3 separate regions of the Homo sapiens genome follow, and all the other regions are linked to region 2. The links are contacts of gene promoters, found by promoter capture Hi-C in blood cells and fetal thymus (Javierre and others, 2016). All regions are on one chromosome and are shown on one strand. Each heading gives the region's core, a stretch centred on a gene start or on the middle of the fragment in contact. The rest is flanking DNA. Distances are from core to core; before and after follow the strand shown.

Region 1 (2,842 bases), core at 134-2,633, 140 kb before region 2:
TTCCAATCTGTGAAATGAAGATAAATATCCTTGACTCACAGAGCTGTTAAGAGTATCAAAAGAGAGACTGTGAAAGCACTGGGTAGGTTACTAAATGTAATAGATCTGTCGTGAGTACTAAAAAAAATGAAGCTCTAACTGTAGAGCTTTGAGTAGCGGACCACGGAGAAGGTGTGGGGAGAAAAGGGAATCTGGGGACAGATTGAGAAGGGGTTTTACTCCTTGGAAGAAGAAGGAATGAGGCACTTCACGCCCCAGGAAGTTTCCTACATCTCTAGAATTAGGGTAGCGACTGCGATTTACTCAATCTAATGCTAACCGCATGTCTTGGAAGAGGGTCTCAGTTCCTCAGAGGAAAACCAACCCCATTTCTGAGGGCGTTTCTGATCTCCCAGGTTATGCCTGGAACTTGAAGCATCCGATTTTGGGAGCTTTATGTTTGCGTTGGGGGCGGGGTTCGTTGTTTTGTTTTGTTTTTGTTTTGTTTCGTTTTGTTTTGTTTTGAGATGGAGGTATCGCTCTATAGCCCAGGCTGGAGTGTAGTTGCGTGATCACGGCTCACTGCAGCTTCAATCTCCGGGCTCAAGCGATCCTTCTACCTCAGCCTCCCTAGTAGCTGGGGCCACTGGAGCGCGCCACCAAGCCCGGCTAATTTTTTTATGTTTTTGGTAGAGACAGGGTTCGCCATGTTTCTCAGGCTGGTCTCGAACTCCTGGCCTTAAGTGGTCCGCCCGCCTTGGTCTCCCAGTGTTGGGATTACAGGCGTGAGCCACCGCTCCCGGCCCTGGGGGTGGTTCTTAAGCATCCCCAAATCTGTATGGATATATATCTCAACGCCTATCCCTCCCTCTGCTCCCCCTCGCCCAGTCTGTCCCATGTGAGTGTTGTATCTTGTTCGCTGTGAAAGGTGATGAGGGTCGGTGGGGGAAATCTCAGATCCCCGAGCAGGAAGGTTCTTAGTCGTTCTGTGAGTGCCCCTCCCTTCTCCATAGATCTCTTGTCCCCTAGAACGGGTTTCCTGTTTTCCCGCCCGACTCACCCGCAGTCGCTTCCTCTCCAGTCTTGGCGTCCCACTGCCTCAGGGTTACTCAGAGCAACTCCATGGCAACTGCTTTCGTCACCACAACCCGGCAGGCGCCATAAGTACTGACGCGATGCTTACCGGGACCTTCAGTTTGTCAGGGGCGGGGCTTCAAGGCCGCGGGTGACGCTGGGATTTGTAGTTCTCTTTGCCTTCAAGTACAGGCCGGGGTCCGGAAGCGGTGATACCCCTTCTCTTTCCCAGTGGCCCTCAAACTTCCTTTTCCCGGGTCCTTAAGCGGGCCCCGCCGACAGAGGCCAATCAGAGGGCAGCGCGAGGGGGCGGGGCCATAGTTTAAACTAATTGTGCGCTCACAGCGCTGGCGCGAGCCCACGAAGAGGTACGATTCCGGAGAATCGCGAGGCAGAGCGGGAGCGCGCAGCCAGGTAACCGGCGCGGGCCCGCGTTTGGCGTGCGGCCTGGGCACCCCTGCGGGTGCTCAGGCCTAAAAGGGGTGCTGGAGAGGCCGCTGCGAGCGGAAGGCCTCCTCCATAACCGAGTCCGAAAGGGCAGAATCTATGGGGGTAAGGTTTGTGAGGAGAGGCGCCTGAGAGGGAGGAGCCGGGGGGGGGGGGGGTGCCTTAAAGGGGAGGGTCTGTTTGGGGGCGTGTCTGTGGAATTAAATCTGAAGGTGACTGGGGTCGGGGGTATAGGGCAAGTTCCCGAAAGGCTTGTAAGCGAGGGGTCGGGTCCTGGAAAGTCTTTGCCTTTTATCGTTAACAATAGCAGTAGTTATGGTAGTGCAGTAGTCAGCATTTTCTGAGCTACACCGTCCACAATGACCTGCCAAATGTTTATCTTTTTAATCTTCTAACCACCTGTTATACTTTAAAGATGGGGAGCCTGAGGTTTATAATGTTTAGCTTGGCCCGGGTTACGTAGCCAGTGCGAGGTTGGCTCTACTTTGGGTTTATGGGTTGGGCATAAATGGGGACGGGGAAGGTGCTTTGTGGGGGCGCGCGTTGTCTTGGACTGGTCAGTGTATTTTGAGCCTCACTTTTCATATATGTAAACAATGACCTTACCTGCCTTACCTACTTCCTGGGGTGGTTGTCCTGGTCAAAACAGGTTAAGTCTTTTTTTTTTTTTTTTTTAATTTTTGTTTGTTTTTGTTTTTCATCCATGGACTCTCACAGATAACATGTTTCATACACGCACCTCGGAGAGTACAAATTTATGACTATAAGTGGTGTGACTGTGTGAAGATTGTGGGTGGGCGGGAGCCCACTGGGTTGATGCTGCCGCCTCTGGGTACTCTCTTTTGCTTACCTCTGAGTTAGCACTTGTCATTTTTTTTTTTTTTTGAGACGGAGTCTCGCCCTATCGCCCAGGCCGGAGTGCAGTGGCGCGATCTCGGCTCACTGCAACCTCTGCCACCCGGGTTCAAACAGTTCCCTGCCTCAGCCTCCCGAGTAGCTGGGATTACAGGCGCCCGCTACCACACCCGGCTAACTTTTGTATTTTTAGTAGACACAGGGTTTCACCATCTTGGCCAGGCCGGTCTTGAACTCTTGACCTCGTGATCCGCCCGCCTCGGCTTCCCAAAGTGCTTGGGATTACAGGCGTGAGCCATCACGCCCGGCCTGCCATCTGGTATTTTAAAAGTCTGCGTGTTTGTCTGCCCTTCTAGATAACGAGAGACTTTTTCGTCACTGTATCCTAATGGCTAGGCAGGATTTGCGACATGTAATGGGAATAAATGTATGCTTTGGAATAATTTCTTGGGCTGAAAGGGCACAGGAATTTCGCTTTCCCGTTTTC
Region 2 (3,074 bases), core at 292-2,791:
CAGGCGTGAGCCACTGTGCCCGGCTAAATTTCTGTTGTTTATAAATTACCCAGTCTAAGGTATTTTACTATAGCAGCCCAAAAGGACTAAAACACCCCCCACCGAATCCAAAACACTATCATCTCCCATATGGACTATTACCATAACTTCCTAACCCTCTCACTGAGTCACCTCCTACAATCCATTCTTCTCAAAGCAGCCAGAAAGATCTTTTAAAAAATGAAAATCAGCTCACATCACTCCCATTTTGAAACCCAATCAAAATCTTTTCATTGCCGGGCACGGTGGTTCATGCCTGTAATCCCAGCACTTTGGGAGGTCGAGGCAGATGGATTATTAGGTCAGGAGATTGAGACCATCCTGGCTAACATGGTGAAACCCCGTCTCTAATAAAAAATACAAAAAAATAGCTGGGCGTGGTGGCAGGCACCTGTAGTCCCAGCTACTCGGGAGGCTGAGGCAGGAGAATGGCACGAACCCAGGAGGCGGAGCTTGCAGCGAGCCAAGATCGCGCTACTGCACTCCAGCCTGGGCAACAGAGCAAGACTCCGTCTCAAAAAAAAAAAAAAAAAAAATTCTCATTACACGCTCAATAAAATTCAACATGTATCACAGCAGCTACAAGGCCTTATAAATCTGACCTTGCCAGACTCCCTGACCTCATACAGAACCATTTTTCCTTTGCTAATTATGATCTGTCACACTGGCTTTCTTTTTGGTCCCAGGACATGCCTTGTTCATTCCCATTAATTTGTACTTGCTTCTCCCTCCACTTGGAACATATCTGCTTCCAAATCTCGAAATTGCTAGGTCTTCACCATTCAGGACTTGGTTCAAGTAGCATTTCCTCAGAGGCTTTCCATAATCACCCTATTTAAAGTAGCCTTTCTCTTCTAGTCATCTTTATCACATTACATTACTTTTCTCAAAGCATTTGTCACCATCTGGAGTTATCCTGTTTATTTGTTATCTACTTTACCACATTAGAAACTAAACCTAATATGAGCAAGGACCTCAGTTGTCTTGTTCACTGCTGAATTACTGGGACCTAGAAAAATGTTTGACACTGAAGTCACAAGTATTTGAAGAAGGAAATAATGAATAATTAATACAGACCACAAACTTAATAAATGTTTACTGAATACATGAGTGAACGAATTAGGGAGAGAAATAAAGGGCAAAACATAAATAAGTGAAAGCACTGCTATTTAACATTTTTATAGCTGCTCACTTCTCTCTACCCTACTGTCTTTGCTCAAGCTCAGGTCCGCATCATCTCGCTCCTAAACTACTGCAATATCTCCTAACTGATTTATTCTCCTTTTTCCAACCTGATCCTTCCAAAAGTAACTTCCAAACTTCAATTAGACTTGGTCATTCTGAGACAGAGATCTAAACACATTACTCCCCTGCTCAAGACTCTTCAGTGGCTCTCTACAGCCCAGGCTTTTTAGCACAGTCACTCACTGCTATCCCCTTACGTTTAACCTAAATTCCAGTCATACAGAACTGCGTACAGTCCCAGAATATTCCACGCTGTTTAACGTCTCCAAGCCTTGCATATCTTTTCATTTTGCTGGACCACTCACTCTTCCTTACCTCACTGATTTTGACTACCTATTGAACTCAACTTAATCCTCAAGAACAAACTCAAAACATCTTCTCCATTAAGTCTTTAAGGATTCCCGAAGCAGAGTTAATCACTCCCTCCTTTGTGTCATCACAGTACTTAACACATGCTGACACTATACTACAACCATCTGTTCCCATGTCTGGTTTACCTCACAGGACTATTAATCTCGTGAGAGCAGGAGCCACATTTTCATCTTTGTGTCCCCAGCACAGTATCTAGCATATATCAGAACTCAATAATTGGTGACTGAAGGAATGAATAAATGTATCCAAACTCCTCAGCCTGGCATTCAAAAGTCAACCTCATGTTGGCCCCAACCTACCTTTTTTAATTTAGCTCTTACTCTTCTCTTACTTGCTAATCACAAATACATCCTCATTTCTCAACATTGACCTTGGGCGTTCATTCCTAATGCTCTAATGAAATTCAAATCATCCATGAAGGCCGAACTCAAATGGCTCCCTCTCCAAGAAGTCTTCCCTAGCCATATCCATGAGAGGGTACTTCCCCTACAGTACTTTGTTTTTTTCTACCGGAAAAAAACATTTAGTACTTCTTATTTTAGAATTATGGCCACTATCTTTCCAACTGGACTACATGTCTTATTTTTCTAACTAGACTGTAAATTCCCTGAATGCAAGAAACATGGTTTTCTCTCAACCCAAATCCCTAACATAGTGACTTGCACAAAGCATGCAGTTATCAGTAAATATATCATTAGTGAGGAATCATATGCTCAAGGATTAGAGACTTCATGTCTTTATTCCTTTATACATATGCTTTTACCTTGGCCTAAAGTGGCCTCCTATCCACATGATAAACTTTTAAGAATCAGCCTAAATGCCATACCCTATCGGAAGTCTTCTTTAATGCTCCCAAATAGACTTAAGCACTCCTTCTTCTGTACACTTGTGGCATCTTGTACGTAATTTATAACTCTACTCCTCATACTATATTGTCATTATCACTTGATGGGTTCCTCTCCCAACTAGACCATAACTTCTTTAGAGCAGAGATAGTCTCTTTGTCCATTTATTAATTCCCAAGACTAAAAAGAGTACCTGGCATAATTAAGTGCACAATAAATACATAGTGACTTTTGAAAATAATGAATCCATGTCATAGTGTATACCAGCAATAGTGTACACTATAACATGAAGACATGAGGTTGTATCACCATGTTCAAATCCCACCTCCACTTACAAGCTGTGTGACCCTGAATAAATTACTTTTCTGTGTCTCAGTTTTTCTCATCTGGAAAATTAAGATAACAGTATTAAAATAGAATTAGCTTTTCCTCTTCCAGTAAGCAGCCTAAGATGATCTGTGAAAATGGTTGGCTATTAACTTGACCCAGAACACCCCACAAAATCATGCAAATCAAGATATTAAAATCTTCATATTCACTTTAAGAGTCAAGAAACTGCCCAGGCCATAGGGG
Region 3 (3,084 bases), core at 585-3,084, 170 kb before region 2:
TATTCTGGCATTGTCCATCTGTTAGCAAACCTTGTAGTCTCTACCATCTAAATAAATTCAGAATTCAACCACTTCTCATCCACTACCTCTAGATTATCATAATAGGCTCCCAAATGGTCTCCCTGCTTCTGCCATTGTCTCCCCTACCCCAGTCTATTTGGAGAACAGCCAGAGTAACTCAGTTAAACTGTAAATCAGATTGTGTGGACCCTGTGCTCACAACCCTCCACTGGCTCCCCAACTCCTCATCTCCTACCTATTACTCTCCCTAGAGGACACTATGCCCAAGCCATTCTAGGCCCTCTGCACTTGTATTCTCTCTCTCTGAAATGCTCTTCCACAAATATCAGAAGGCTCTCTGCTCCTTCAGACCTTTACTCAAAAGTCACCTTCCCAGTGACTTTGGCCCCCCAGTCTGAAATAAAACACCTCCCCTGCAAATATTTTATTCCCACTTCTCAGATTTATTTTTTCTCTTATTTACTGCAATCTTACAACTACATATTTTATTTATCTATCTTCTTTATTGTTTACCTCTCTCAGAATGAAGGCTGCATGAAAAGAGGGACTTTTTTGGTCTGTTTTGTTTACTATTGTATACCCACTACTAAGAATAGTGATGGACATATACTAAGGCACTCAGTAGGTATTTGTTGAATGAATGAAAAAGGTAGTCATTTCCAAGAGGCAAAGTTTACTCTTTAATGAAAAACTATAACAAACAGTGCTATTTGGCAATATAATCACATTCAATATGCACAGTACACGACCTCTTGAACAATTCTTATCCAATCTTCACATCAGCCCAGGATAGAAGGAAGGCTGGGCAGAGATTATGATGCTGGTTGACAAAGAAGCTGAGTCCAGAGAGAGGAAAAGGAATTGCCAAAACTCACACATCTGGCCAGGACAGTACTGGAAATGCGGATAACTGCTGTCCCTGAAAGAGGCTGGTAAGTGATGGAGTTTAATAGGAATTGGGTTTGAAGGACCTCTGTTGCCAGAAAGCATGAGTATCTCTAAAGGCGAAGCTGAGTCAGAGGTTACTAGAACAGAGGCATCAGCAAAGGATGGGAGAGGTGACGAGGGCGATCTCTAAGTGTACTTGGCCCAGGCCTGAGGAGGGCAGCTGATTCCCCCAGCAACAGAATGCTGTGCCTGAGGCTAACTAGTCATTCAAGTCTGTACATAATCTCCAATGTCAAAACTCAACAAGCAACCTTAAGAGAGACCACTAAGTCTACTGCATGTCTGCAGGGTTTGGCTTCCCTGGACTGTGAGGTCTTCCAGGGAAGCGACCATATTCCTAGATTTATCCCCAGTTTCTAGCAAGGCCTGGAATATAGTAATATTGTAACTCTAATATTTTTGTTCAGAGCAAAAATAAAAAAGAATGAATATGCTCAAACGGGAAACTGTAGCTGAGAGAGCACAGATAGGAGGGGCCTAACATCAACCAGCAATTCTGAAGTAGTAACAGATTAGTTTTCTGGGATGCAGCAGGACGAATGGCCCTCGCACTAAAAGGTTGCTGTCAGCTCTTCTTCAGAAGGGGTTAACAAGCAAATGGTGACTGGCAACAAAAGGGCAGGGGTTAAACGGGGCAGTGGTTAAACGAGACCGTAGTGCTGGCGCCAGGATGGAGACGCCGACTGGCTGAGACTCAAGGCGGGGCAGATAGGTAGGCGCGGCACACTTCCTTCCCTAACAATGTGACTAAGGTAGGTCAACGTCACATCCGGTTTAGTGGGCGGGAGCGGGGAAAACAAAAGGAGACGAAGGACGCATGCGTTTGGTGAGTCCCGGATTCTGGTGGGTTCTTCCGCTCAGGCTGGGTGAAGCGCTTCCGGGTCGCCGCCGGCAGCAGCCTCCCGGCGCGGTAAGTACAGACGCAAGGCTGCAACCGTCTCCTTGCCCCTTCATTCCTTTTTCCCCCAGAGAAACCCATTTCCTTTGACCCGACTCCCCAGGAGCTCCATATTGAGAGTCCTTAACCCTTAAAGAGCTCCAGCTCATTGGCCGCTTCCTCGAGACTAAGCCCCACCCCGTCACACAAGGTCCGTCATTCATTGGTGTCACTTCCTGTCACCCAGCATTTCTTTCAGTTAATTGGTCCTACCCAGGCCCCGCTTTTTTCGCGTTTAGCAACCCTATAAGGCCAAATTTCTGTCTGAGACCCGCCCTGCTTTCTTTCTGTTGGTCAACTGCATGGTCATTATCGTAATGAGCAAAGAAAGGGCGGTGGCTTTGCGACGGTGGGTTGGGCTTTCGGAGCCGAGATCGCTGGTCTGTCAGTACTTCTTGGACATGAGGGTGTTTACCGTCGTGCCTAATTACGCGGGTTGGGAATCTGAGATACAGGGAAGGGCAGCGGCTGGCCCTGGGTCGGTCAGATAAATTAAGACAAAAGCAGGACCAGGCATCGATTATTTTCTCCTGCTCATCCCTTTCACGGAGGAATTCTAAGCCCCGACACACTGTATGACCTAAAGCCAGTCTCTGCCTGTCGCTGGGCCTCAGTTCGCCTGTCCTAAGTTTAATTCAGATTATCTGGCACTCCTGGTCGGCTCCCTCAGCCGCTCAAAGCTGATTGTACCCTTATAATGTTAGTTCATCCATTCAATCTTCCATCTACTTATTTATCCACTTATTCATGCCTCCTAGAATGTCTTACTGAACCCTGCTTGCATATGCTACAATCCCTCCACCCCGACATTTGGCTGTGATTCATGAGAGGTCGTTAGTGTCCTAAATTTCTGACACTGGGTGGGTGTGGTATGGGCCATCATAAAGGGTCAAAAAGCAGGTTTTAGTGTGTGGAGGAGGTAGGGATAGTTTCAGTAGAACCCTGCTACCTCTAATTTTGTATAATTTCATAATGCCAGTCTGCATTCTGGATTCCTATCCCTACACTTGACTCCCATTCTCATCCCTCCTTGAACAGCCTGCAAACAGCTTTGTTGATCCATTATTTACTTAATTATCAGAATAACTTTGACAGTGGTATAATTGTTATTATCCCCATTTTACAGATGAAGACACTGAGGCTCAGAGAGGTTAAGTGACTCAGCCAAGGTCAAACAG

What was found. Contacts are between HindIII fragments. The CHiCAGO score rates a contact against its expected background, and 5 or more counts as called.
Region 1: a contact is called between the fragment with the promoter of NUMA1 here and a fragment that was not itself captured in region 2, in 3 of 17 cell types (naive B cells, naive CD8 T cells and total CD4 T cells). The highest score is 5.7, in naive B cells.
Region 3: a contact is called between the fragment with the promoter of ANAPC15 here and a fragment that was not itself captured in region 2, in 3 of 17 cell types (naive B cells, activated CD4 T cells and naive CD8 T cells). The highest score is 6.2, in naive B cells.

What each region holds. Positions count from the first base shown.
Region 1 is chr11:72,079,083-72,081,924 of GRCh38, reverse strand. It overlaps NUMA1 (nuclear mitotic apparatus protein 1), which reads left to right and starts at 1,383. Exons shown (of 27, transcript NM_006185.4): 1 at 1,383-1,467. LRTOMT (leucine rich transmembrane and O-methyltransferase domain containing) reads right to left here and starts at 1,075. Exons shown (of 9, transcript NM_001145310.4): 1 at 1,040-1,075. LRRC51 (leucine rich repeat containing 51) reads right to left here and starts at 1,075. Exons shown (of 6, transcript NM_145309.6): 1 at 1,040-1,075. RefSeq lists enhancers at 62-1,016, 1,028-1,297, 1,017-1,972. The HindIII fragment of the contact is 5,366 bases long and covers 1-2,842 here.
Region 2 is chr11:71,939,432-71,942,505 of GRCh38, reverse strand. All of the region lies in intron 1 of RNF121 (ring finger protein 121), which reads right to left. Among named protein-coding and RNA genes, the nearest start is that of RNF121, 12 kb to the right of the region's middle. The HindIII fragment of the contact is 4,567 bases long and covers 1-3,074 here.
Region 3 is chr11:72,111,445-72,114,528 of GRCh38, reverse strand. It overlaps ANAPC15 (anaphase promoting complex subunit 15), which reads left to right and starts at 1,834. Exons shown (of 6, transcript NM_014042.3): 1 at 1,834-1,879; 2 at 3,033-3,084. RefSeq lists enhancers at 951-1,488, 1,796-1,855, 1,956-2,015, 1,489-2,026, 2,186-2,355 and 1 more and a silencer at 1,608-1,825. The HindIII fragment of the contact is 5,139 bases long and covers 1-3,084 here.